Linked DNA regions of Homo sapiens: all the other regions are linked to region 2. Evidence: promoter capture Hi-C in human tissues and cell types (Jung and others, 2019). All regions are on one chromosome and are shown on one strand. Each heading gives the region's core, a stretch centred on a gene start or on the middle of the fragment in contact. The rest is flanking DNA. Distances are from core to core; before and after follow the strand shown.

Region 1 (4,330 bases), core at 109-2,608, 1.6 Mb after region 2:
GTCCTGGATACCTTCCCATGTGGTAGCAATGAGTCATGGTGTCTCTGGTCAGTCCCCACCAACCCTGGTCACCCTCAGTTCTGAGGCTGATGCTGATGGCTGGCCGTCGTTTCTTTTGCACCCCTGCTTTTTCTTGAGGTCTGTATACCCATATTTCTGTCAAAAATAAGAAAATAAAACACAGTCCAAGGAAGACACAGTAGAATATATTTGTATGAAAGCAGCCCTAACTGCTTAATATACAGCCAAAGCAAATCTGTTATAAACCTAGCTTGATTAACTCTGGCCAGACACAGCCAGTCCCTAAAGACCTTGGTGTTTTTAATAGCTCCACCTGAAATGTGCAGACTTTGTGTCTATATTGTTCGACTCTCCAGATGATTTACTTAATTATCCATCTAGAGTTACCTCTGTAGAATATATTAATGATCTGGAATTTAGAGAGAATAATGCAATAATTAAGAATTCTATTTATCATCTCCCAAACAGATAAACCTGGAATAGATGCCATCTAGAAAGCATCTCTGAGATGTGCTTAACAACACACACACACACACACACACACACACACACACACAGGCGTCCACACACATACACATGCACACACACATTTTCATTGTGTTTTTCCTCTAACGAGGTTTACAGTAGAGCTTGAGATAATTGGCCCAACCACAAAACTCAAAGATGAATGAGTAGCCGATGTGGCACCTCTAGGAACTGTGCATCTTCTCCCTTCAATACAACCATACATAGGCCAGAAATACAGCACCTCAGAGCTTCTGCCAGCTGAAATAGATTTTAATTCCCTGCCAAGCCTTCACAAACATTCAATTGCTGGAATCCAATGATGAAGTTAGAAGAGAGAGGGAGAGTCATATATTTTATTTCTCATTGGACGTAACTTGAACACTCCAAGCCAAGGCCAATATTTTGTCCATTACAATCACATTGCAAGTCTGAATTAGAATCGTTTCTGGTTTCAAACACTCAAGGTGGGTGAGACAGAGGAATGAACATGGGGGATCAGGGCTGCCTCATTCTCACCCCAAACAATTCTGCAAAGCCTAAGCCTTCGCCATAGACGGAGCGTTATTATTCCATCCCACCGGGGCACGTGTTGTGACAAGGTGACAGGACAGCAATGAACAAGTTAGTGTTTCAGCCTTGTGGATCAGACCAGGAGAGTCATCAACTATGCTGACGAGACCTGGGACGCTTGGTGGACTCTTCTGCCCCCACCCACTGCAAGTGGGCAGCGGCCAGAGACTGGCGGGTGAGAGTTGTTGATGCAGGCTGCGTGCGGAGCTGCGTGGTGCCTACATATCCCCCCACATGCTGCCATAGGTACATGTCTACATGTCTGCCTGCATCTGCACCTATATCCATGCCTCTTAGGTAGAGATCTATCTATTAGTGCACTTACAAATCTACCTACACATCTGTATATGTACACACATGCTCACAAGTGCACCTACATATCTACCTGCATACCTACATAGGTACCTACCTCCAAGTACACCTACAAATCCACCTACATACCTACATAAATACCTACCTGCACACTTACCTCCAAGTACACCTACAGATCCACCTACATACCTACATAGGTATCTACATGCATAGCTACCTACAAATGCACCTACTAATCCACCTACATACCTACACAGGTATCTACATGCATACCTACCTATAAGTGCACATAGAAATCCACCTACATACCTACATAGGTACCTTCCTGCAAGCGCACCTACAAATCCACCTACATACTTATATATGTACCTGTATACATACCTGAATGCCGACATAGACACATACCTACATGCATACCTACATCTGTACCCATTTCCATACCTACCTGCATAGATACCTGCACACCTACCTACAAGTGCACCTACAAATCCACCTACATAGCCACATATGTACCTACATACATATCTACATAGGTGCCTACATACACACCTGCATGCCAACATAGGTGGATGTCTACATGGGTACCTGCATTTGTACCTACATCCATCCCTCCCTGTATATGTACCTATATGCACGCCTACATACACACCTCCACACCCACAGACACACGCACTTACACATGTGCCTCCTCACCTGCATACATGCATGCACACCTACCTATGCAGAAAGGCAATGAGTGTAGCTGCCATAGCATTTCCCAGAGGTCCCCATCAAATGAATATTCTGGAGAATAAACGCCATGTGGTTGCCCAGGTCTATAAGAGGAATGGCTTAAGCTTCTTCCCATTCCTTACGTTCCACCCAGCATTTTCATGGAGAAGTGACTTGGACAGAACAGACTTGGAGCCACAGGAAGGGACGACAGCGTGGACAGGGCTCTAGCTCTGAGCTTGAGCGGTGGGCGGCAGCCTGGGGTGGCAGCGGCACAGGGACGCTCAGCTGTCCGGCAACTTCTCCTTCTCAGTTTCTCACACGCGAGTGTTTAACGTGAGGGTGCATGATGAACATGCGAGCATTTAAAGAAAATTGTGTGCCCAAGAAATTTTAGCTCTGACTGTTTTTGCACACCACTTTTCAAACCAATTTTCAAGGATTTTTCTCCTTCTCAGCCAAATGAGAGAAATAAAGTCTGCAGAAGAGAGATAGTATTGTCCTGGGAAATATCGAGAGGATTAATGTATCTTGACTGAAGCTAGCAGGAAATTGTGTTTCAGTTGTGCTTATGGGCTTATTGTGAAGACGTCACATCAAGAACAATTCGTTGAACAAGAAGTATAGGGTGTAGAAATAGGAAGGCAAAGTCAATGGGGAGAGACAGATTCAATAGTGGCTTTGATGTGTATCTGCATTGTTAATAAATGAGATGCTGACACTTTCATTCAGGGGAAGAAAAATCCCCTGGCGCATGGCGGAATAAGAAAGGAATTTTTCATTTAAGTTACTTCCGTGTCATATTTGAAACTGGAGGGATAATTCCAGCACTGTTGATTCGTAAATACTTTGAAAGTTGAAATGGTTATGGCAAGCTCAACACTAACTTGACTAAACAACGTCGTATTACAGTCTCTCCTGCAGGTGCTGTCTTTTTAAACCTGTAAATGCTAAATCATTAGTTGCTTCGTCATTTTCAAACACTTTTGTTGGCATCACATAATAATCAAACTGACTTTCTGGGTATTATCAGGTAAAGAGCACCACTGAAAGACCAGAAAAATAATACTCTGGGATAGAAAGGACAAAGAGATTTCTGACTTTTCCACAGAGAGCTGTGTTTCTTCTCAAGGAAAAAAAAATGCTCTTGAAAAGTATTCGCTCTCTAGGGAGCTAAGTATTGTTTTCCGTGAACATCTGCATAGCTAGGACGAAACGACTGTACCATTGTCTTGGAATTACCATCGAACTGTAAAGTTGTCGTTCAGGATTCTGTGACTTCTTACACCGTTAGAACAGTGTGGTTTCAGTAACGGGGTTTCCTAGATCCCAAAAGACCTGGAGCTCACGTGTTCAGAAAAATGACTAACAAAATAACTACTTTGTTTGAAACAGAAACGTGTTGAAATATGCCATTTTGAAATGTACTATTATTCTCAGCTTTTACTTTTAGCATCATTTGAATCTGCAATTTAAATCTTACGGGACTTTTAGAAAAAAAGGGAAACCAAGGAGAAATAAAAATGTTTACCATAGGTTCAAAGCTCTAGTTATAATAATTAGCACAACACAGTGTACAGGAACATTGAACTCAGTTACTAGGATGCTTTTAGTGTAACTAAACAGGAAATGAAATAAAATCATGTCCAGAAACAGGAAAAATAAAAACATAATTTCACTGGAAAGTTAGAACACATACATGGGCAATTTACAAGTTGAGCTACAAATTTAGCATGGGGCTTCCTTGCAGCCCAAGTATAAAGAAAATTTTGACAGCTTCACAGTTTTGTGAACTTGCTATTCATAGGGAACAATGTCTGTCCATGGCCCCCGAGAAACCTAGAACACAGATGGAAGAAGGGTCCTGCACGAGTGTCCACATAAGCAGTCCTGACAAGGGTTGTCATCCTCACTGCATTCCAATGCAGACAACAAGAATATCGTGAGACAGCTTTGCTGGGTATGTGGGTGTTTCATCTTTTTTGTGGTAAAATACACATAATACAAAATTTACCACTTTTTAGTGTACAGTTCCATCATGTTAAGCACCTTCTCAGTGTTGTGCCAACACCTCACCATCCACCCATAGAACCATTTCATCTTCCAAACTGAAACTCTGTCCCCATTAAACACGAACTCCCACTTCTCCTCCTGGTAACCTCTATTTTGCTTTTGGTCTCTACGAATTTGACAACTCTCAGTCCCTCAT
Region 2 (4,564 bases), core at 2,065-4,564:
ACTCAGAAGGTTGAGGCAGGAGGATCACTTGAGCCCAGGAGTTTGAGGCTGCAGTGAGCTATGATGGCACCACTACACTCTGGCCTGGGTGACACAGCCAGACATAAGTACTCTTCGTGGTCTACGGGAGAGTACAATATTTGGAATTAAGATCTGTTTTGCTCCTATCACAATCACGTATGCACCTCATGCCCTTACCTAACTTACTTTTCTTTCTGAGTCTTTCTCCCCACTTCCAAAATGAGGACACGCCTCTCTTGGGATCATGTATTTAGGCTTGGAGATAAGAAGTGTAAAGCTCTTAGAATACAAAATGTTTTCAACAAATGGTAGCTATGATCATCTTAATATACGGAATTTTACCATAATTTCACATCTGACAGAAAATTCCCCTGAAATTAATACGTGAATGTGAATATGTTCTCTCATCTCTAGCTACAAGCAATAGTCTTCTATGTCAGGGAAAATCAAGTACTAACATAGAATCAGAATAAAATGGTAAAAGAATGGGGACACTGAGATATTCTCGAGGAATAACCTACTTACTGTAAGGGTTTGTAAATCTGTGGCAGCTAAGACCAGGCCCTCTGAGTACATCTGGAGGTGAACTTCCTTAAAAGAAATGCGTCCAAATGCTCCAACAGGTTCAAGATCGTATCACCGAAGGGTAAAGCTCTTTACAGAGTCTACAAAAAAATTGTGACTTCAGCTCTGCCAGGGAAAGAGTGCCCAGGCGACCCGCCATGGCGGGCTTCCCCAGGGACAGCCCAGGTGTGACCCATGTGGGCTCGAGGCCACCATATTTGATGCCACCTGCAGAGCTGAGGGCAGCTGTCTCCTATTAACCCGAGGTTGCAGCAACCAAGCCGCGTTCCCCACATAATATTGGTTTCCAAAGTATCATTTTCCCCAGAAAAGAAGAGGCGTGGACTTACTAACCTTCAATATGTCTAACTCCTCCCAGGTGGCAAAACCAGGGTAACAGAGAACACCGCGATTCTGCCAATGTATCCTAATCTCACATGCCTGTACACAAACTCCCGCGCATTTTAGCAAGCTTTTGGACATGGAGCTCAAAGGAATGACCCATAAATATTTTCCAATACATGCAGTATCTTAATTTTTTTTCTTTCTTTTTTTTTGTAGACACAGAGTCTCACTATGTTGCCCAGGATGCTCTGGAACTCCTCGGCTCAAGCGAGCCTCCTGCCTCGGCCTCCCAAAGCACTGGGATGACAAGCATGAGCCACCGTACAAGGCCCACAGCACCTAAATTCCAAAATAACCTTGAAACCCTGACTTTCCACCCGCCCTGGTGGCTTCCAGAGATCAGTTCCTCTTCCTGTGCCAAAGGTTTCTTGTCTTTCGCGGCCCAGGTAAGGTCACTCAAGGTGCTCCCTCTGCTTCTGAAGGCCTTTGACTGAGAAGCCACTCTGGGTCCTATCCCGACCCCAAGGCGGCTCCATTCGTACCCGCACATCTCCGGGCCGGTTTAAGTCACGCGGGCCAGGCTATTTCCACTTCACTCTCCTGTTTCTTCAATCCCATCCTCTGCTGCATCACGTTTTCTTTCTCTGAGAACCCAGCCCTGCAGGAAGAACGTTGATGCTGGGGTCCTTTTACTGGAATGCTAACGCCAGAGCACTTCCCGGGGGCGCTGCAGGGCGGGCTGCGGGGCGGGGCCTGGCGCTGCCACCCGGGTCTCCCGCGGGGGGCGCTGGGCCTGGGGAGGCTGCGCTGCGGGCCTGGGGAGCGCGCGGCGCACGGGTGTCGGGGCCGGGGCTCGTGGAGACGACGGGCCGGGCATCACGTAGGCGCTCGTGGCGGGCGGGGCGGCGCCCACAGCGCCTCAACCTGCGGCACCCGCGCCCGCCCCGCGCGCTCAAGGGCGAAGGGAAGGTCACCCGCGCAGTGGGCAGGGGGTGCATCCCCGCTCCAACCCTGTGCAGTGCGCGGCCCCGAAACGGGAGGAAATCCGCCATCCGGGCCTTTCCACGCATCTGCGGCAGGAGGAACCGGGAAAACAAAAATCAAAACCCAGCTCGGGGCGCGCCGCGTCTCCAGCCTGCGCGATCGCTAAGGCTCCCAGGTTGCGTTCGCCTGGGAAGCGCCGATCTACCCGCCAGGGATTGCACGGATCGGGACACTCCATCATCCGGGCACCGGCGCCCCCACGTGCACCCGGGGCCTGGGGCGCGCCGAGTCTCCGCCACCTTCCGCTCTTCAATGTTAAATATCCTCCCGGCGCGCCCGCGTCCGTGGGCCCAGCCTCGGGCCCCTCCTAGAGAGCAGCTTCCACATTGCAGGGCAGGGAAGCCCGGAGCCCGCGCCGCGGCGCCGCTGACATCCCGGAGTCCCCGCTTCCTGATCCTTCCCGTCTGCGGAGGCTGGCGGGGAGGGCCTGGGACCCATTTTGGTTTTCGTTTTTGTCACGAGCCGGAAGGCGACAGCACATGCGAGCGCAGGAAACCCTTTTTAAAAATCTCCCAGCGGAAACGCGAGGGGCTGCCGGACCGCCCTGGAGACGCCAGGCGGGAACCCCGCGCACCCCCGCCGCGTCCCGCATTGCAGCAGCCAGGACCCCGCCCACGCCGCGCAGGGCACGAGGCGACAGGAGGCGCGCGGGGACCCAGCCGTTTCTTCCTCGACATTCTAGGGGGTGGCGTGCGGCGGAGTTGGGGGGCGGGGGGGCACTTAGGAAGTGATCGCGCTGTACCCACGCTTCGGAGGGGACGCCCGGCCCCGTCCTACAGCTCAGAGGCAGAACGACCCCCGAGGGCGCTTCAGGCGACTCCCTCTGCCAGGTTCCATTTAAAACAAAACCGAAGGTGGAAAACTCACTGATCTTCCGGATGGAGGTTCCTACCGCCATGTCCCTTCCTCCCCCGCCCCACCGGGCAAGGACCCCGGGGCTGCCTCGCCGGCTCATGCCGCCCCGCAGGTACCCCTGCCGCTTCCGGGCGCGGGCTTCTTCCCGGTTCTCCCCATCGCTTCCCCGCTCTTCTCCCCGGTTCTCCCCATCGCTTCGCCACCTTTCCCCGGGTCCCCCCCATCGCTTCCCCCCTCTTCTCTCCGGTCACCCCATCGCCTTCGCCCGGTTCTCCCCAGCTCCGTCCGTCCGTCCCTCCCTCGCCGCCGGGAGGGGGGCGCGCACCTTGAGCATCCCCGCCGCTGGTCAGCACGCCGATGGCCTTGCCGGCCCCGGAGAGGTGCTCCAGGAACTTCCGCAAGGAGCCCTTGGGGGCCCGGGAGTCGTCCGCGTCCATGGCGAGGAGGCCGAGGGGAGCCGCACGTCCGGGTGCGCAGCAGGCAATGGGGACCCTGCCCGCGCGCGCCTGACTCGGAACCGCCGCCCCGCCCGCGCCCCCGCCCGGCCCCAGCGCCAATGGGCGGTGACGGGCGGGGCCCGAGCGTATGGGAGGGGCTGCGGGGGAGGGGGCGCGGGCGCGGCTAGGGGCAGGGGCCGGGGCTGGGGCGGGTGTGGGCAGGAGCATCTACGCGGGGGTCGTCGTAGGTGGGGGCCGCGCTAGCGGTGCGGGAGGCGGCAGAGGCAGGGGTAGCGCCACAGGTGGGCGGGTCCCTGCTAGTGGGGCCGCATCGCAGGTGCGCGAGCCTCGCGGGTGGGCTGGAGGACTCTGGTTGGGGGCTCTAGAGATGACGGGAGCGCCACAGGTGGGGCAGGGGCAGCGTCCGGAGGAGGGGAGACCGCAGGGGGCCGGGGTCACATCGTTTGCGGGGCGCGCCAGGGCGGGGCGGGATAGAACGCCGGGAGCATCTCCCGGGGGGGCGAGGGAGACCGTGAGTGGGCGCGAGCGCCGGGGCGGGTGGAAACCCCGCAGTTGCGGGGAGCGCCGATGGCGGGGAGGGGTGGAATGGGGGCGCGGAGACCCCACCTGGACGCGGAGGCTCGCGGCAGGCCCGGCCGCTCGGGCCGTTGTGGGGGCCGAGCCCGGCCGCGCGCACAGCTTCTAGTGGCCCGCAAGATTCCTCCTGGGGCGGCGCTGGGAGCCTCGGGGCTCGGCTTCCTCGACCCCCGCCCCCAGGTTTCCTCTGCAGCCTGAGGTCGGGAAGGACGGACGGAGAGTGGATCCTCCAGGTGGTGGGAAAAGGTGAGCGTGGCGGGCTGGGCCATGACGAAGCTGCCATTTCCCGGGCCCATGGGGGCTGTGGTGCTCCTGGGCCCCCAGCCCCGCCCTTGGGGGGAAGAAGCCGTGGGGTGGAGGAAGGTATCGGGGCGCGACCCTCAGAGACGCCCTGGCGGCGCCCCGGCCTGGGCGCTGGAAAGTCAGAGTGGGGCAGGAGGAGGCGCAACAGGACTGGCCTGGCGGGGAGGCGGGGAGGCGGGAGGACCCTCCCTCCCCACGGACACGCGCGCTGCTGTACGCTCTGCCTGACCTCGGCCGGCTCCACTGGCCAGCTCCACGTACTGAAATACTCACATCCAATGCACTGTGCGGTTGCCCATCCACAGCTTAACAGCCTGGTGCCAGTTACCCTGCGATGGGAGAGGGGGCAGCCCCCATAGAAGCACGGGCTTATGGGACCCGGGTTCCTTCAGTGCTCA
Region 3 (4,220 bases), core at 580-3,079, 1.5 Mb before region 2:
TCAGCTTTAATTAAAGGGAAGCTGCAAAGAAAATCCTTTGAATGTAAAATAATTTTGTTTACACTTTATGTGGTAGTGTAATTTTTTTCCTCATGTTAGCTAAAAAATTGCAACATTTATTTTTAGGGAGCAAAACCAAAAATATATCTGCTAACTAATCAAGTTGAGACAAATAACTTACTCAAAAACGTGACTGTTCTTCATTTATAAGTGACAAATAACTGTTATATTTTTCTGCCACCCAAAACAAAAAGTTAAAGACTTCCCTGCTGTCAAATTTACTAAACTAAGATGTGTTTATATATAGTTTGTAATCTTTAGGCTCGAGGGAATTACTTACAATGATAAAATGTTTTTGTTGGAAATATGTTAGTGTGAAATACGTGTCTGTCAGTTTTCTTTTGTAATTAACATGACATATTTAAAAATTTCTATTCCTAAAAATAATAAAAAAAAACCAAGGCTTTAACAATGACTAAAATGTTTTTTAATGACTACAATGCATTTTAATGGCAAAAATTATCTTTTAGAAAAGTTTAATGAGAGAAGTTATAAGGAAATTGAAATATGCCTTACAGTTTCTAAACTTACATTCATGTAGGGCTTTGTTTATCCAATAGTGTAATGAAGAAAGTTACTCTGTGGACTGGCGGAGATGCTAAAGACACAAAATGAAAAGAAGAGAAGAATATGAAGTTGGTGACCCACTGAAGTTGATTACATCTGAAGTTACTGTCACTGAATTTTTAAATTATGTATGATGATAAATTTCCATTTTGCTCAAACTCCTTGATAGAGGACTTTATGTTACAGCCAAAAGCAGTCTAATTGATACAGAGAGATCAAATATGCACTGGAATTATGTCAGAGGAAGTATTGTGTAGTGATTAAGATTGTGAGTTTTTGCATCATTTGGCAGTAGCTTCATGTGTATGACTTTGTCAATTATTAAATTATAAAATAAATTTGGAGTGGAAGTGAGGGAGAGGAGTAGAAGGAAGAAAAAATATCAATTCTTTCGCATGTAGAGAAGCAGAAATAATGTGCAAATTATCAGGAGAAATTCTGAAGACATCATAAGAAAAATAACACAAATAAAAAGTCATCTTGAAGTGATGATGTAAAGAATATAAAATCAGTGTTAAAAATGAAAGGAAACATATCCAAAATATTGATATATGTATAAAGGAAAACTCACATTTGCAAGTTTGAAAGATAAGGATTTCAAAATATAGAACACACTTGGCAAATGATTCAGTTTATGTTTTGTACAAGAGACATATCTAAAACAAAGAGAAAAGTCAAAAGTTAGAAACATGGGGAGATGCAAACAGGCATGTTAGATATACCAACAACAACCACAGCTATTGCCATGACAATATCAGCTACAAAGCAACTGGGATCACCAACCAATCATCTGAATCCTGCAAGTTTGGGCAACATACTACTAAAAGGATCCCGGGCAGACACTTTGTAATGATTAGAATACAATACGAAATGAAAATTTAGCATTTATAGATTTCCATAGATCACTGATACTTATTTTAAAAAGGACAGATAATTTAACAATAAATGGATGTGAATGTATTAGCTATGAGAATTTAATTGATGCTGAATTTCATGACAGCTTAAGTGGTCATAAACGGATGAAAACATAGTGGCCTTAAATACTAAATTAAATTAAATTGATTATATTAAACATATTTTTTAGAGAATGCAACTTCTTTCAAATCCTATTAAAAATCTACACACACACACACAAAATTTTTTTTTTTTTTTGGAGACAAGGTCTGCCTCTGTTGCCCAGTCTGGAGTGCAGTGATGTGATCTTGGCTCAGTGCAACCTCCACTTCCCAGGCTCAAGTGATCCTCCTGCCTCAGCCTCCTGAGTAGCTGGAACTACAAGCACATGCCACCATGTCTGGCTAATTTTTCTATTTTTAGTAGAGATAGGTTTTTGCCATGTGGCCTAGGCTGGTCTCAAGCTCCTCCTGGACTCAAGTAATCCACCTGCCTTGGCCTCCCAAAGTGCTGGAATTACAGGCATGAGCCACTGCACCAGGCCTAAAGAATTATATCATATATGCCATTGATATGGTTTGGATCTGTGTCCCTGCCCAAATCTCCTGTTGAATTGTGATACTCGGTGTCAGAGGAGGAGCCTGGTGGCAGGTGACTGGATCACGTGGGAGGGTTTCTCACGAATGCTTTAGCACCATGCTGTTAGTGCTGTCTTCACCATATAGTGAGTGGTTCTCTGGAGATCTGGCTGTTTAAAGGAACGGCATCTCACTTTCTGTCTCTTGCTTCTGCTTTCGCCATGTGATGTGCCTGCTCCCACTTCACCTTCTGCCGTGAGTGAAAGCTTCCTGAGGCCTCCCCAAAAGCAGAAGCCACCATGCTGCCTGTACAGCCTGCAGAATTACTAGCCAATTAAACCTCTTTTCTTATGAATTACCCAGTCTCAGGTGTTTATAGAAATGCAAGAATAGACTAATACAGCCATAAAGAAAATTTTAAAAACTGTCAAAAATAAAGAAATGGCATAACCAACTTTATCTATAACAATGCAATCAAACTAAACACGGTAATAACAAGACTAGAAATAAATAAAACCGTCATCTGCTAATTTTTCAAAAGAGAAGGAAAGGAAGAAAATGTCTCTTTAAACAACTCAAGAGGTCAAAAAGGAACTCATAGAAGAAATATTAAACTATCTAGAAATTATATTAATTCAATTCCCAGAGGACAATCAATGCTTTATTTTCTTTATTAATAAAACAAAAGTCATAAATGGATTAAATATTTATTCTTAAAGACTTTGGAAATTGGAAGATAAACTCAATGAAAGCAGAAGAAAGAAAGAAAGAAATAAAGATGAAAGCAAAAGTTAATGAACACAAATGTGGAAAAAGCGATGACCAATATATATATTCCAAATATCTTTGGGATAAAAGCAAGCAATAAATCACTTAGTTAAGATAAAAAGGGATATGTTAAAGGGGATAAAGTCTCAGAAAAGTAATTATAAGATTTAAATGCTATGCAAATATATCTGAAAATATGGGTAACATGGCTAAACTTCTAGCAAAATACCAAATGTCAAAACTGATTTCATAAGAGAGAAAATATATTTATATAAATTACATTAGAAAATAAAAAGAGAATATTTTCAAAAGTCTAAGAAATAGATAAATCCCATAGCCACATACAATTCAGAGCAGATAGGGCTGGGGAGAGTTAATTTTAAAAAAATTGGGTGTGTATAAATTTAGAAAAAGAGAGGAGGAGACTTTATTTCTTGTAAAGGGTTACAGCCTACAAGGTGGCTGTCTCACAGGCTGGGGAGCACAGCCTCCAGCCAAGGCCGGAGACAGGCACTTCGAAGGAGGAGAGGTTTGGGCAGGAGCTTTATGCTGAACACATTGGCTAAACATACATATTCAACAGGTAAGAAGAAGAGCTATGAATATTCATGAAGGGAGTGCTGACACATGCTTAATGGGCAAATGTGCATGTTACATACAACCCATGTTCACTTTTGGTAGAGACAACATATTACAATGAGGCCCTATATGTCAAAAGATCTTTTCGGGACACGAAGGCCCATGAGTGGTTCTGAGCCTTCTGGTTCTCTCTACAGAGATTGTAGACCGCCCAGAATCAGTCCATGGTGGATGATCTTAGCTGGAGAAAGTTACTGAAATTAGTCTCTTGTCCAATCAAAGCTGGGGTCATGGCTGATGAAACAGGGCTCAGTTAAGCAGCATCTGTGGGCTGCAAATTGTTTCACTATTGCTTGTCTCCAGGCCAGGGCTTATTTAGCTGCTGGAGAAAAATTAAAACCCTGTAGCAGTGAGAACACAGTTTATTATTCAAGTGTGGGCTGTGTGACTTAACCGTTGCCTGACACGGCCTTAGGTCCTGTTTGGAGTTTGGTATCTTATTGCCAAAAGGACTCTGTTCTGTCAGTCTTATAATGATCTCTATTTTAACATTAATGCTGGTCAGTTGTTTTGTCTACACAGCAAAAGAGAGTGTTATAATGAGTCCTCTGACCTCCCGTTCCGTCATGACGGGAGGAACTCAGTTTTAATGTTTATCTGGGGTCTCCTTGGCCAAGAGGGGGCCCACACAGTCAGTGGGGGCCTTAGGATTTAATTTTAGTTTACAGGAGGCAGGGCAAAAAGTCTCCTTGCTCAAACTCTTTTTAATAATGT
Region 4 (4,075 bases), core at 656-3,155, 1.7 Mb after region 2:
TTCTTCTTAAAAATTTATAGTTTTAGCTTTTTCATTTAGGTCTGTGATCCATCTTGTGATCATTTTCACATATGATGTGAGGTAGGGCTCAGAATCATTTTTTTCAATATGTTGTCTAGTTTCTTAGAACTATTTATTAAAAAGACTTTCTTCATCAACTTGCTTTGGTACCTTTGTTGAAAATCAGTTGATCATACAGACTTGATTCTATTCCTAGACTTCCCCTTTTGTTCCACTGGTATTTATCTAGCCTTACGCCATTACTACATTGTATTTGTTCTGCAGTATCAATATTGTTTCGACTATTCTGGGTCTTTTGCATTTCCATATAAACTTCAAAATTATCTTTCAATTTCAACAAGAGTACTGATTGAGATCGAATCATATCTATAGAAAAATTAGGGGACAGTTGATATTGTAACAATATGGAACCTTAGATTCTATGAAAATGGCATACATTTCTATTTATTGAGGTCTTTTTAAACTTATTTTAGCAATTGTTTGTAAATGTGAGTGTAGAGGTTTGGCATGTCTTTTTTTTTCTTCAGATTATACCTAAGTATTTTATACCTTTTTGTCCAAACAGTATTGTTTATTAATTTAATTTTCCACTTTTTCATTACTGGTACATAGAAGCATGTAGACTTTTGTGTATTGGAGTTCTGTCCTGTGACCTTGCTGAATTCACTTATTATTTCTGGTAGTTGTTTTCATCTTTCCTTAGGAATTTCTACATATATGATCATGCCATGAGGATAAAGTCAGTTCTACTTCCTTTCCAATCTCTATGACTTTTATTTTCTGGCCTTATGACACTAACTAAGACCTCTGTCCAATGTTGAATAGAAGTGGTGAAGGCAGACATCCCTGCCTTGTTCCCAGTACCACAAGGAAATCATTCACTCTTTCGTCATTAAATATAATACTAGTTATAACTTTTGGATATGTCCTGTATCAATTTGAGGAAATTTTCTTCTAGTCCTTTGTGTGGTGAGAATTTTCATGAAGAATGGGTTTTGTATCTATAGATAAATTAGGAGACAATTGATATTACAACAATATTGAATCTTGAATTCTGTGAAAATGGTGTATCTTTCTATTTATTTATCTTTAACTTATTTTAGCAATAGCTTGTAAATATGAGTGTGGAGGTTTGGCATGTCTTTCTCAAATGTTTTTTCTGCATCTTTTAAGATACTATTATTTTTCCCCCTTTATTATGTTAAGGTTGTGAATTACATTGATTGATTTTCAAACTGTAAACCAATCTTGCATTCCAGGATGAACCACACTGGTTCATGATACATTAACATTTTTATATAGGGATGAACTTGATTTGCTAATATCTTGTTAAAAACTCATCTGCTCGTGAGGACCATGGGTCTGTAGGTTTTTTTTCTTATAACATCATTGATTGGTTTTGGCTTTAGATTAACATTGGCCTCATCAAATAATTTTGATAGTCCACCCCCTTCCATTTTTCTAGAAAATTTTGCACAGAATTGGTATAATTTCTTCTTTAAATATTTCTTGCAGTTCACCAGAGGGAGCTCTCTGAGCCTAGTTTACATGTGAGGTTGTTTTTACTATGAATTAAATTTACTTAATATATATTGCACTCTTCTGGTTTTCTGCTTCTCCATCAGTGAACTTTGACAGTTTTTGCCTTTCAAAGAATGTTCCCATTGCAAATATGTTTTTCACTGACTAGCATACAATAGTTTACATTATTCCCATATTCTTATTTAATGACTGCAGGAACTATAGTAAGATCCCCTCATTTATTTCTAATTAGAAAACATGGAAGTTTTTTTCTCCTTTTTCATGATTAATCTAACTTGAGATTTATCAAACCTATTCAAGGAGCCAATTTTTTTGCTTCATTAGGGTTTTTTCCCTATTTTTTTCCACTTCCTATTTTGACTCCTACTATTAATTTTAGTAGTTTCTTCCTCTAACAACTTTGGTTTGATGTACTCTCTTTTTTTAGCTTCTGACAGTGGAAGCTTAGATAATGTTGGACGTTTCTTTGTTTCTAATATAAGCATAAACTTAGAGCTAAAATATGTCTCTCAGCATTGCTTTAACTATGTTTCACAAATTGTGTTATGTTATACTTTCATTATCACTGAGAATAAAGAGGCTTTAATTTTCCTGTGATTTCTCTTTTAACTCTTGGGTCACTTACAATGGTGATACTTAATTTCTGAGTATATACAGATTTTCCATATATCTTTTTGTTACATATATTTAACATAACTATATTGTGGCCAGAAAATATACTTTTATGATCTCAAACCTATAAAATTTATTGAGACCTTTTTTATTTTGTAGTGTACAGTCCATCTCAGCAAATACTCTATACAGTGTTCTATAAATGTAACTTAGGTCAAGTTAGCTGTTAGAGTTCTTCTAATTTTTTGTTCTATACCACCTTTTTCTCACTACTTGTTCTATCAGTAACTAGGGGAGGAATGTTAAAATCTCAAACTAGCATTATGTATGTTTCTACCCTCCTTCATTTTGCTAGTTTTTTATTCATGTTGTTTAAAACTCTGTTGAGTGCATAAACACCAACAAGTATTATATTATCTTGATGACTTGATCATTGTGATATGTCTTTCTTAATCCCTGGCAATATTTCATATTTTGAAAACTACTGTGTCTATTGTTAACATAGCCATTCCATCTTTCTTAAAATAAGCATTTACATGATGTATCTTTTTCAGTCATTTGACTTTTAACCTGTCTATATTTTTATACTTGAAGTAAGTTTTTGTAGCAATAAAAAATATAAGTTTTGTTTTTTAAATACAATTTGAATATCTCTGCATTTTAATTGGAGTACTCAGTCCATTTACATTTAATGTAATTACTGATATATTTGGATTTAAGTGTACCATATTGCTAATTTTTTTCTGTTTATTCAATTTTTTTGTTTCTCTTTCTTTGCCTTTTTCAACAAATCAATCTTTTTTAGTATTCTATTTTATCTTCTCTGTTGACTTTTTAGCTATACCTCTTTGTATTATTTTTAGTGACTGATCTAGAGATTAAAGCATGCATGTTTAACTTATCATAGCCAACTACCTCATGATCAAAGGAAGAAACTTGCAACAGAATAATTATATTTACCCCATCCCAAGGTGTGTGCTGCTCTTTTTATATATTTTCTAAATATACAATAAACATTACAGTACACTGTCATTATCTTGTATTTAAAGAGTTAATAGTCTTTTAGCAAATTTTTGATTTGTATTCTGTCATTCTCATTGCAGTTGCTCTGTATGTAAGATGTCCTGTTTCTCTGGCTACTTTGAAAATACTTTCCCTATCTTTTGTTTTCAGGAATCTGGCTGTGCTGATTGGTACAGTCTTCTTCAGATTTATTCTATGTAAGTTTGATTGAGATACTTGGATCTGTGATTTGATGTGTCTAAAAGAATTGAAAACTTTTAAACTATTATTTAAAGTATATTTTCTACCTTAACAGTTTTTCCATTTTTTTCTTGAATTCCAATTATACATAAGTTAGACTGCTTTATATTGTCCAACAGATCGTTGAGTCTGTCACTTTTTTCACCTTTTCTATTTCTCCCTGTGCTTAGTTTTGATTGTTTCTATTGATCTGCCTTCAAATTTACTGATATGTTTTGCAAAGTGACATATCCAATGTGAAACCCATCCAGTAAATTTTTTCATTTCAAATGTTATGTTTTTGAGCTTGAGAATTTTTGTTTTATTTATATAGTTTCCATTTCTCTACCAAGATTCCCCATCTATTTACTTATCATATCCCCTTTATTTTTAAATTCTTAAAAATATTTCTAACATCTATTTAATGTCCTTATCTGCTAATTTCAGCATCATTAGATCTTTTTACTTCGACTATATTTTTTTCTGATGATTGGTCATATTCTCCTGCTGCTTCTCACTTCTAGCAATGTCATTACTATTACTCTATCATTATTTGCTGGGCTTTGTGGATACCATGTTGTTCAGAATATGGATTTCACGGTGTTCCTTGAGTTTTCTTCTAGCAGGTAGATTATTACTGACCAAGGGTAGTTTATTA
Region 5 (4,668 bases), core at 1,229-3,728, 2.0 Mb after region 2:
CAAGTGTAAAAAAAGCCTGTGGTGGGGAGGAATCAAAAGACGACACTAATAGGTGTGCCGGTTTGCCCGAGACTTGGCGCTCGCTCAGAACAGGCACCAGCTATGAGGATGCAGGGCAGCGCGGCCGTAGGCCCCTGGCCTTTTGGACATGCTCAGCCCAGCAGGAGACAACGCGAACACATCACGGACCACAGAAAGGCATCGTCTCGAATGACGACACACACAGCAGACAGTTCTCATGCCCTCTTGTCAGGAAAAATATGAAGTGAGTGAGGAAGAAACTAATTCAACACAACGATTTCTGCAGAGTTTGCTTTTTAAATTTTTCTTTGGTAAGAAAACAGCTGTCCAGCTGTTAAGTAAATCAGAATAATGTAGACTTTTCAGAATAAAACAAAAAAACTAAGTGAAGAACTAAAATCAGTGGCATTACACAACTTGTTTCAAACACTGATTTGGCATAGCCCTGAAAAACACATCTAAATTCATTCTTCCTAAGACCATAAAGCACAACCCACTGTCACATGGATTTGGGTCCGCACCCTCGAGTTATTCTCCTCGGATACAGTGATATAAAAGGCTGAGGAAGAGGCCAACATTTTCACCAGTAACAGGAAGAACTTCCACTGCAACTGGTCAGAGGAATTGCAAAAGCACTTGTTCAACCTCAAACCCATCATTATCCTCTTTTCTTTCTGAACACTAATATCCTATTCAATCCAGGAAAATTATGCCTCCACAACATGGGAGATGCTTTTGCTTACAGAAAGTGTCATTCAGATGTTAAATAACATTGTAACATTTTAGGAGGGAGTGAAATTAAAGGACACACACAACCTCCCACCATAATAAGCGGTGGTAAATTTCACTTTCCAAGTCTCTCACCATTTCTAACATTAATAACCGTATTGTAGTAAATTTCATTTTCCAGGCCTCTCACCATTTCTAACATAAGTAACAGTATTGTCGTAAATTTCATTTTCCAAATCTCTCACCACTTCTAACATTAATAACAGTATTATAAGAAACAAACTACTAGAGTTACATTCTTCACCTGCTCCATTCGCAGGGTAAGAACAGAGTGGCTCCTTCCCAGAGGCTCTGACTGCACTGCTGCTGGAGCTGTGCTGCTGGAGCTGTGCTGCTGGAGCTGTGCAGGGGATCATGTGCCGTTTTCAAATATTTTCTCATGTGTTGCTTCCAAAATGCCCACTGCACTTTGACCATCTATTACCTTAACTCTTTTTCCTTAGAAAAGCTGACTTAGTCGTCATTACCAAGAGGCCCAACAAAACAGACTGAATTACCTAGAGGGAACGTTCATAACAGAAAAGCAGCAGAACAAAGCCGCAAACTGACGCTCACGCCCATCATCCCAGATCGTTTGAACTGCGGCGCAATCTAAAGCACGGTTGTGAAAATGTTTGCAAATATTTTTGAGAAGATAAGTGTCTTTCTTTGTGGAAAAAGCCCTTTCTGATTTTTATAAGTTTCTTTAAAGAGGGCTGCAGGTTAGACTTCCTCACTTCCCTCCCCCGTAGGCATCAGAAATCTCATTAGCCACCCAGGAAGGGGAAAAACCTCTTCTGCGTTCACGTAACACACTTTTGTGTTCCCGCTATCCCACCAGGCACGTTACTTGCTTTTCGTGGCTCTGGGTCAGAAGGAGGGAAAGTAATAAAGCTAGACTGTAGCCTTTCTCTTGTTGCATTCATGCTTAGCTTTGGCACCAAGAATCCACACTGTAGTACGAATCAGAATATATTCTGTTACCAAATTATTTCTTCAATCTTCAGATGTCTTATATTTTCATAGTTATTTTTTACAATGGGTATGGGCAGTGTGCAAAGGCTATAAAGATCATTAGTAATATGCTTCTTATAAATTCAGATGAATTTCTAGTACCTAAAATGACTGGGCTTTAAATATCTCTAATACATTTTTTAAAGCAAAGCATTACTATACATATCCTTACCCTTGTCCAAATCTTATTTTTTACTGCTCATGGTAAAGGACAACTTTATATAATCATTTCTTCCTCTACTTCAGTAATAATGAGAAAGTTTTGGAATTCCAAGACCATACATTGTATATATACAACTGTACACACCAGAAAAAACAACATAATCCAAGATAATGTAAAAAGAAATTAAATGAGGAAGAACATAATTTCACACTTCATTATGAAGAAAAAGCTTCAAGTTAATTTATTAAAAAGTTCAAAACTTGTAAGTATAAGCTAGACATTACATGGCCAAAAAAAAAATCAAATAAATTAGCAACTTACATTCTAGATGTTATCGAAGGAAAGTACAGTAGAAAATACCAACAATTTCAGATTTTCTTTTGAATAACAAAGAATTACCAAAGACTATCAAGTGAGGACAAACGGCAGAAGGACTAAATTTGCTCTATTAATTGCAGTTAATCTTACTATAGATGTCATGCTAAATTAACTTTAAACTCAAGGAAACAAATTGGAAAAATAAAAAGCTAACAAGAACTACTTACACCATCATAGCAAGATCACTGAAAATTTCAATTTATCTTTGTATCCTTGAAATATGCCAAAGTACAGATGCATACAAAATTACCTCAAAATATCACTTGATAGTAATCCATCACAGACAAATGAATTCCCAAACAATTAAACCCTTTCCACTTTAAGAAGGTCAGCACGAGATACTTTAAGAAAATACAAAAACCATGAACATCCCTATTTGCCTTAGAGACAGACCTTCACTTCCTGATCACACTTAGGAAACTGAGGAAAAGAACATAATGAACTAAAATGTAACTTTAGCTCAGAACATAATTTTCACTAATTTGTACCTATTTATTAGCTTCCTCCAAATTCAGACCCTTTATATTAAGCCAATTAACAAGAGAAATTATATATTCCCTCTAAAGACAATATATTTACTAATACATCATATATTAATCCCTGTAGGTACTAGGGTAAGCTACTATGTAAATGCCTGCATAGTGACATTCTTTTTTTTTTTTTTGGAGTCGGAATCTCGCTCTGTTGCCCAGGCTAGAGTGCGGTGGTGTAAGCTCGGCTCACTGCAACCTCCACCTCCCAGGCTTAAGCAATTCTCATGCCTCAGCCTCTCAAGTAGCTGGGATTACAGGCACCCGCCACCACACCCAGCTAATTTTTGTATTTTTAGTAGAGACAGGGTTTCACCATGTTGTCCAAGCTGGTCTCAAACTCCTGACCTCAAGTGATCCATCCACCTCAGCCTCCCAAAGTGCTGGGATTACAAGCATGAGCCACCATGCCCAGCCAGGACATTCCTTTAAAAAACTAAATTTCCCTTAAAACCATTTATCTTTTTCTGCTATGCCTTTCTAATTGGAAAATAAACAACTTAAAGTACACATCTGCACACCTTAACCACCACATGATGGCTCAAGAGCCAGTGGCCTGCATACCTTGCTGGTGGAAGCCTTGTAAGTGGTCTTCAGTTTCTGGGAGAGCTGGCTGGTGCTGTGACTGGCTGCAGGGACAGAGAGTGACAATCAAACACAATCACACAATCAAAGACCTATAGCCTCACAAATGGGTCTTGTGTCTTGCACAGGAAGAAAGGGGGCCCAGAAAGGCTCGTTTGACCCTAGTGACACAGAGCCATGGCAGAACAGGAACAAGAACCGAGCTCCTTATTCTCCTAGACCCACACCTGAATTAGATAGTTCGAGGTCTGCTGACAGCAAAACGCAAACCAGCCAGCATCCTTCACTAAATTCCAAATTTCCTGCATGTATAATCTGCAGGACAAGACTTTCATGGGATTCACCTTACCTTTTGTTTTGAGTTGGCCCTTACTCAGCTCTGCTCCATCAATCGCTTGTCCTTCAGCAGCTAAACGTTCATTAAGAGTGTCGATTTCTCTACGTACTGGGAAGAAAAAAGTTTTCAAAAATCTAAAGTATGTTTTTATGTTTAAGTGTACTCACCACTTCCAAAACTCGCACACAGAAAAAATGCTATATATTAGTGTTATATAAACAAAGACATGAATAATATTCTAATAAGCAAGATCACAATTCATAGAGTTCTCAAAAAACTAAAGAAACCATTCGAGGCTGGGTGAGGTGGCTCACGTCTGTAATCCCAGCACTTTGGGAGGCCAAGGCAGGTGGATCACGAGGTCAGGAGTTTGAGACCAGCCTGACCAACAGGGTGTCTCTACTGAAAATACAAAAAATAGCCGGGCGTGGTGGTGCATGCCTGTAATCCCAGCTACTCAGGAGGCTGAGGCAGGAGAATTGCTTGAACCCGGGAGGCAGAGATTGCAGTGAGCCGAGATCACGCCACAGCACTCCAGCCTGGACAACAGAGTGACACTCCATCTCAAAAAAAAAAAGAAAGAAAGAAACCATTAGAGATACCATTCCAAAAGTAAAAGCTCACACACTTGCTACACTGTGGAAGACACTGCTATCAGGGTCTCAAAGACAGCACCCGCATTTCAACATAGTTTCCATAGTGATTGATTCTGCACGATTAAAAACATTATTCTGGGCTGGGCACAGTATCTCATGCCTGTAATCCCAACAATTTTGGAGGCCGAGGCAGGCAGATCACTTGAGGCCAGGGGTTCAAGACCAGCCTGGCCAACATGGCAAAACCCCTTCTCTACTAAAAATACAAAAATTAGC
Region 6 (4,624 bases), core at 1,312-3,811, 2.0 Mb after region 2:
CGTGTACTGATCTTATCATCCTAGAACGTCAAGGCTACCAAGGACAGAGACCGTTTCTCACAACCACTGCATCTGCAGGAGCCTGTACAGACGTATTTTCCAAATATATGCTCTTGACTTGTTTTGCAGCACGGCCTTCTGGTATACAGAAGAAATTCCTAACGCCGATGCACTCATGTTTTTTCTTCATAGGAATGGCCCTTAGTCTTTTATTCAGGGTTCATTTTCATTTCTACGTTATCAGTTTTAGAATGTTCAGGAGCAGTAAGTAAGAGAAATCAGTGGGATTGAGTGAGAAACAGCATTAGAAACCAGCACAAAAATGGCAAAAAGCAACAGCTGACTTCCAGAGAAGCTGAAACAAAACACTCAACAGAGACAAACAGTAACGCCCAGGCTGCGGGGCCATCAGGGCAGGGAGACAGCGTGGCAGTGCGTGCACACTCCTAAAGCACTGGTATGTCCCTCTCTTACACACACACACGAAATAGTCTTTTTTTTTACAAAGTGTTGGTTCTTGAGGGATCATTGGAGAAATCGCTTCTGTGGAACATCGTGCTCTCCAAAGATGGTGTTAAATGAAGTGTTTCTCTGCTCTGCTGCTGAGCACCAGAAACCCTGCAGCTCAGATGCCTGCAGGGACTTCATGCAGAGCTGGCTGAGGGTGGCTGAGTGCACGCAGCTCAGATGTGTGCAGGGACTTCAACCAGAGCTGGCTGAGGGTGGCTGAGTGCACGCAGCTCAGATGTGTGCAGGGACTTCAAACAGAGCTGGCTGAGGGTGGCTGAGTGCACGCAGCTCAGATGTGTGCAGGGACTTCAAACAGAGCTGGCTGAGGGTGGCTGAGTGCACGTGGCTCAGATGTGTGCAGGGACTTCAAGTAGGGCTGGCTGAGGGTGGCTGAGTGCACGCGGCTCAGATGTGTGCATGGACTTCAAACAGCTGGCTGAGGGTGGCTGAGTGCACCTGGCTCAGATGCGTGCAGGGACTTCAAACAGAGCTGGCTGAGGGTGGCTGAGTGCACACGGCTCAGATGTGTGCAGGGACTTCAAGTAGGGCTGGCTGAGGGTGGCTGAGTGCACGCGGCTCAGATGTGTGCATGGACTTCAAACAGCTGGCTGAGGGTGGCTGAGTGCACCTGGCTCAGATGCGTGCAGGGACTTCAAACAGAGCTGGCTGAGGGTGGCTGAGTGCACACGGCTCAGATGTGTGCAGGGACTTCAAGTAGGGCTGGCTGAGGGTGGCTGAGTGCACGCGGCTCAGATGTGTGCAGGGACTTCAAACAGAGCTGGTTGAGGGTGGCTGAGTGCACGCGGCTCAGATGCGTGCAGGGACTTCAAACAGAGCTGGCTGAGGGTGGCTGAGTGCACGCAGCGCAGATGCTGATAAGAGGCTGCCAGGCGACCCTCACATGCCACCCGGGCCCTGGCTCTGCAGTGGCCATGCACACAGCATGGTCACCACCATCTTTTCCAAACGTCAGCTGACGCTTTAGGCAGCCACCCCTCCCCATGCTGCCCGCTCTGCGTATCATGCTGGTTTCTGCTGACTTGTGGACTCAGACACCCCCACCTGTCTCCGGAGTCTGTCCTGAAGTACCTCACAGTTAGGAAGTTTTGAGTATGTGTCAATAGCCTGATGGCTGTCTTACAGTCATCTCAAAGAAAAGTGACAGAATCTGACAGGCCGAAACAAAGCTGTCCAGTAGAGCGATTCAAACGCAATCATTTCCTTAAGTCCTTATTTATGAGTTCCTGAGTAGCCCTTCTTAAATGAGGAACTTTAAAAGGGTAAAACAGAGATACACTAAATCTCCTCTCACTTTTAAAAACAATATTCTAACTTGGAAGCGACTTTAAAATGCATCAATAGGCAGCCAGGCTCAGTGGGTCATGCCTGTAATCCCAGCACTTTGGAGGCTGAGGCAAGAGGATCACTTGCGGCCAAGATTTCGAGAGCAGCCTAAGCAACATGGTGAGACTCCATCTCTACAAAAAATACAAACATTAGCAGGGAGTGGTGGCACAGCCCTGTAGTCCCTGCTACTCAGGAGGGTGAGGTGGGAGGATCACTTGAGCCCAGGAAGTCGAGATTGCAGTGAGCCGTGATCATGCCACTGCAGTCCAGCCTAGGCGAGAGGGTGACGCCCTGTCTCAAAAAAATAAACCAATAAAAATTTAAAAACATGCATCAACAAGGGACTGGCTCAGGAAGTTACTGTTAGGTTCATATCACAGGACACTGAGAGAGGAGGATGGAACGGCAGCTCTGCAGGTGGTGGCACGGACAGCGCTGCTCTGCTGGTAAGAGACAAGGATTCTCCTTTGCACAGAAAGAACCACTGGGCCTAGGTGTGCCCAGCTGCACACTGTATCTGCTAACGTCTCCTTGGCAGTTTCTGTGGTCACAAGACAAAACATTCACTAACTAATACAAAGGAAACACCCAAGACCACCCCTGAACATGACTGCTGCAGTGAGGTTCTGTTCCCGCCAACTGCTGCCCACTACAGTTCTCTGGAATCTGCACCATACTCAGGCCAACCAGCAAAGCTCCGAAAAGCTGTCACGGGCGACAGATGGAGTCCTTAGTGACCCTAGCCTGGGTTTTATGATAACCTTGGATATCAGCCAGTTATTATTAAGAGTTGTATTTATATAAATCTATACACTTCCTAAAAATAAAATCACCTTTATTAATTTATGCAGCAACATGGATAGAACTGGGGGCCATTATCTTAAGTGAAACAATGCAAACACTGAAAGACAAAGAGCGTGTGTCCTCCTTGGCAAGTGGGAGCAAAACTACGTGCACACAGGGACAGCGGAGGACTGACAGACAGGGTGGAGACCCAGGGTGAGGTGGGTGACGGGAGGACTGAGAGACAGAACAGAGACCCGGGGAGGGGTGGGTGACGGGAGGACTGAGAGACATGGCAGAGACCCGGGGCGGGGTGGGTGATGGACAGGGCAGAGATGACCCAGGGCAGGGGGGATGACGGGAGGACTGATGGACAGGGCAGAGACAACCCAGGGTGGGGTGGATACAAGACTGATGGACAGAGTGGAGACCTGGGGCGGGGTGGATGACGGGAGGTTGCCTGGTGCGTGCAACGAGCATCACTCCAATGAGGGGTATGCTGAAGGCCCTGGCCTCACCTGAGTGGAGTACATCAAGGTAGCAAAACTGCACTCACACCCCATGAATACATACAACATTTTGTTAAAGTACTCTAATGTAATCTAATTAAAAAGACAACCACCAAGCTTTCAGGCATATGGGTAGGGGATGTAACACTGAGAGGAGACACAGGTGTGCTTCCAAGGCCCCACAGCCTGCAGGCCGTCCTCATCTCCATGTCACTTCCGCCCCAGAGGCCCTTCCACAGGGCCCTGCTGTCTGCAAAGTCACCACCTGGTAGATGGCTGGCTCTCCACCTTCCCCACAGACAAGGACTCAAAAGCCATCACCAAAAAGAAAGCAGATCTGAAAGTGGAAAGCAAACTGATTTAGAGACCACATGCGTCCTTTCCAACACGCACCTCCCAGGCGGCCAGCTGGCCGGACAGCACCCAGAGGCCCACACCCAAGCTGACACCTGCATGCTGACTGTGACCAAGCACAAAGTTCAGGTGCAATTAAAACTGCCCATCATCCAGTTAAAAATGTCGATTTCCAAACATCTTTTCCCTTTAAAAGCATAAGGAAAACTGTTAACACCATGACACAAGCTGCAAAACTGTGTTTACCTTTCTGAGCACATGATCTAGAACTCAGTGTTTAGTACCAAATCTCTCCCCCAGGTGTTTGGAAATAAAAGCACACAAACATGTCATCACTTCAAAGTGATCATTATAATTTCTCAACTGATCTTTTAAAATTTTGTTTGGTTAGATGTGTGTTTTGTTTTCTTTAGAAGAAAGCACCAAAGACCACATTTTGGGAATAAAGTTAAAATCGTTTGCAAAGAATTAAAAAGGAAGAAAACAAAAAACTTTGCATCCTCAAATATTGCATCCATGTTGAGATGATCTCCTGTTTTTTTCAATGCTAAAGTTTATCCGCATTGCAAACACTGCCAGCCCGGCACAAGGCAGAGCCACCTGCCACCCACAGAGGAGGCTTAATGGCCAGTGACACCTCGCCTGTCAGCTCCTTTTTATAGCAACCAAAATAACAACAACAAAAAAAAAAAAACAAAAAAGGGAGATGGGGAGGGGAGGAAAACTCTACGGGATTGGGGTGTGCTGAGGGAGGTCTGAGGGCTGAGGCTGAGATCTAAACAGGCAAATGTCATGACAGCAAAAGCCTCTTGCAGGCACGTCTATTCACCCACGGTCTGCACAGTGAGGGCCCACGCTGGAATGGCCTGCGTGTGGGTTCAGCCCCCTGGGTGTGTGCAAGGGAATGCAGCAGCCAGGAGAGGGCCAGACTTATGGAATTACACTGCCGGGTGAAAAACACACGAACAGAAAAGAACTTAGTTCAGGTGAAAAGCACTGACTTCCAGCTGCAGCTCCTGGTGGTTAGGACAAACACAGGCAATCTCGGAGCTTCTGCGGGTTCCGTTCATTCCAGAACACGCTGTGAGGTGAAGATCGCAGTAAGGCGGATCACAAGAGCT

What was found. Contacts are between HindIII fragments. The study calls those that stand out against the background at their distance.
Region 1: a fragment that was not itself captured here is called in contact with the fragment with the promoter of PFKP in region 2 in 1 of the 25 tissues and cell types used here (lymphoblastoid cells).
Region 3: a fragment that was not itself captured here is called in contact with the fragment with the promoter of PFKP in region 2 in 1 of the 25 tissues and cell types used here (dorsolateral prefrontal cortex).
Region 4: a contact is called between a fragment that was not itself captured here and the fragment with the promoter of PFKP in region 2, in 1 of the 25 tissues and cell types used here (dorsolateral prefrontal cortex).
Region 5: a fragment that was not itself captured here is called in contact with the fragment with the promoter of PFKP in region 2 in 1 of the 25 tissues and cell types used here (dorsolateral prefrontal cortex).
Region 6: a contact is called between a fragment that was not itself captured here and the fragment with the promoter of PFKP in region 2, in 1 of the 25 tissues and cell types used here (dorsolateral prefrontal cortex).

Annotation. Positions count from the first base shown.
Region 1 is chr10:1,482,459-1,486,788 of GRCh38, reverse strand. All of the region lies in intron 1 of ADARB2 (adenosine deaminase RNA specific B2 (inactive)), which reads left to right. Among named protein-coding and RNA genes, the nearest start is that of ADARB2-AS1, 42 kb to the left of the region's middle. The HindIII fragment of the contact is 9,278 bases long and covers 1-4,330 here.
Region 2 is chr10:3,066,298-3,070,861 of GRCh38, reverse strand. It overlaps PFKP (phosphofructokinase, platelet), which reads right to left and starts at 3,314. Exons shown (of 22, transcript NM_002627.5): 1 at 3,155-3,314. The coding sequence starts at 3,266. It overlaps LOC124902536 (wiskott-Aldrich syndrome protein family member 1-like), which reads right to left and starts at 4,292. Exons shown (of 1, transcript XM_047426132.1): 1 at 3,514-4,292. The coding sequence starts at 4,159. The coding sequence ends at 3,722. PFKP-DT (PFKP divergent transcript) reads left to right here and starts at 3,929. Exons shown (of 4, transcript NR_160681.1): 1 at 3,929-4,109. RefSeq lists silencers at 1,596-1,795, 1,882-2,062, 2,476-2,655, 3,076-3,475, 3,486-3,585 and an enhancer at 2,206-2,275. The HindIII fragment of the contact is 12,531 bases long and covers 1-4,564 here.
Region 3 is chr10:4,602,519-4,606,738 of GRCh38, reverse strand. No RefSeq gene overlaps it. Among named protein-coding and RNA genes, the nearest start is that of LINC00705, 52 kb to the left of the region's middle. The HindIII fragment of the contact is 7,033 bases long and covers 1-4,220 here.
Region 4 is chr10:1,385,121-1,389,195 of GRCh38, reverse strand. All of the region lies in intron 1 of ADARB2 (adenosine deaminase RNA specific B2 (inactive)), which reads left to right. Among named protein-coding and RNA genes, the nearest start is that of ADARB2-AS1, 140 kb to the left of the region's middle. The HindIII fragment of the contact is 6,824 bases long and covers 1-4,075 here.
Region 5 is chr10:1,079,247-1,083,914 of GRCh38, reverse strand. It overlaps WDR37 (WD repeat domain 37), which reads right to left. Exons shown (of 14, transcript NM_014023.4): 4 at 3,809-3,904; 5 at 3,439-3,503. Among named protein-coding and RNA genes, the nearest start is that of WDR37, 25 kb to the right of the region's middle. The HindIII fragment of the contact is 5,397 bases long and covers 1-4,668 here.
Region 6 is chr10:1,114,604-1,119,227 of GRCh38, reverse strand. The region is part of intron 11 of WDR37 (WD repeat domain 37); the gene reads right to left. Among named protein-coding and RNA genes, the nearest start is that of LINC00200, 43 kb to the left of the region's middle. RefSeq lists an enhancer at 1,238-1,739. The HindIII fragment of the contact is 4,843 bases long and covers 140-4,624 here.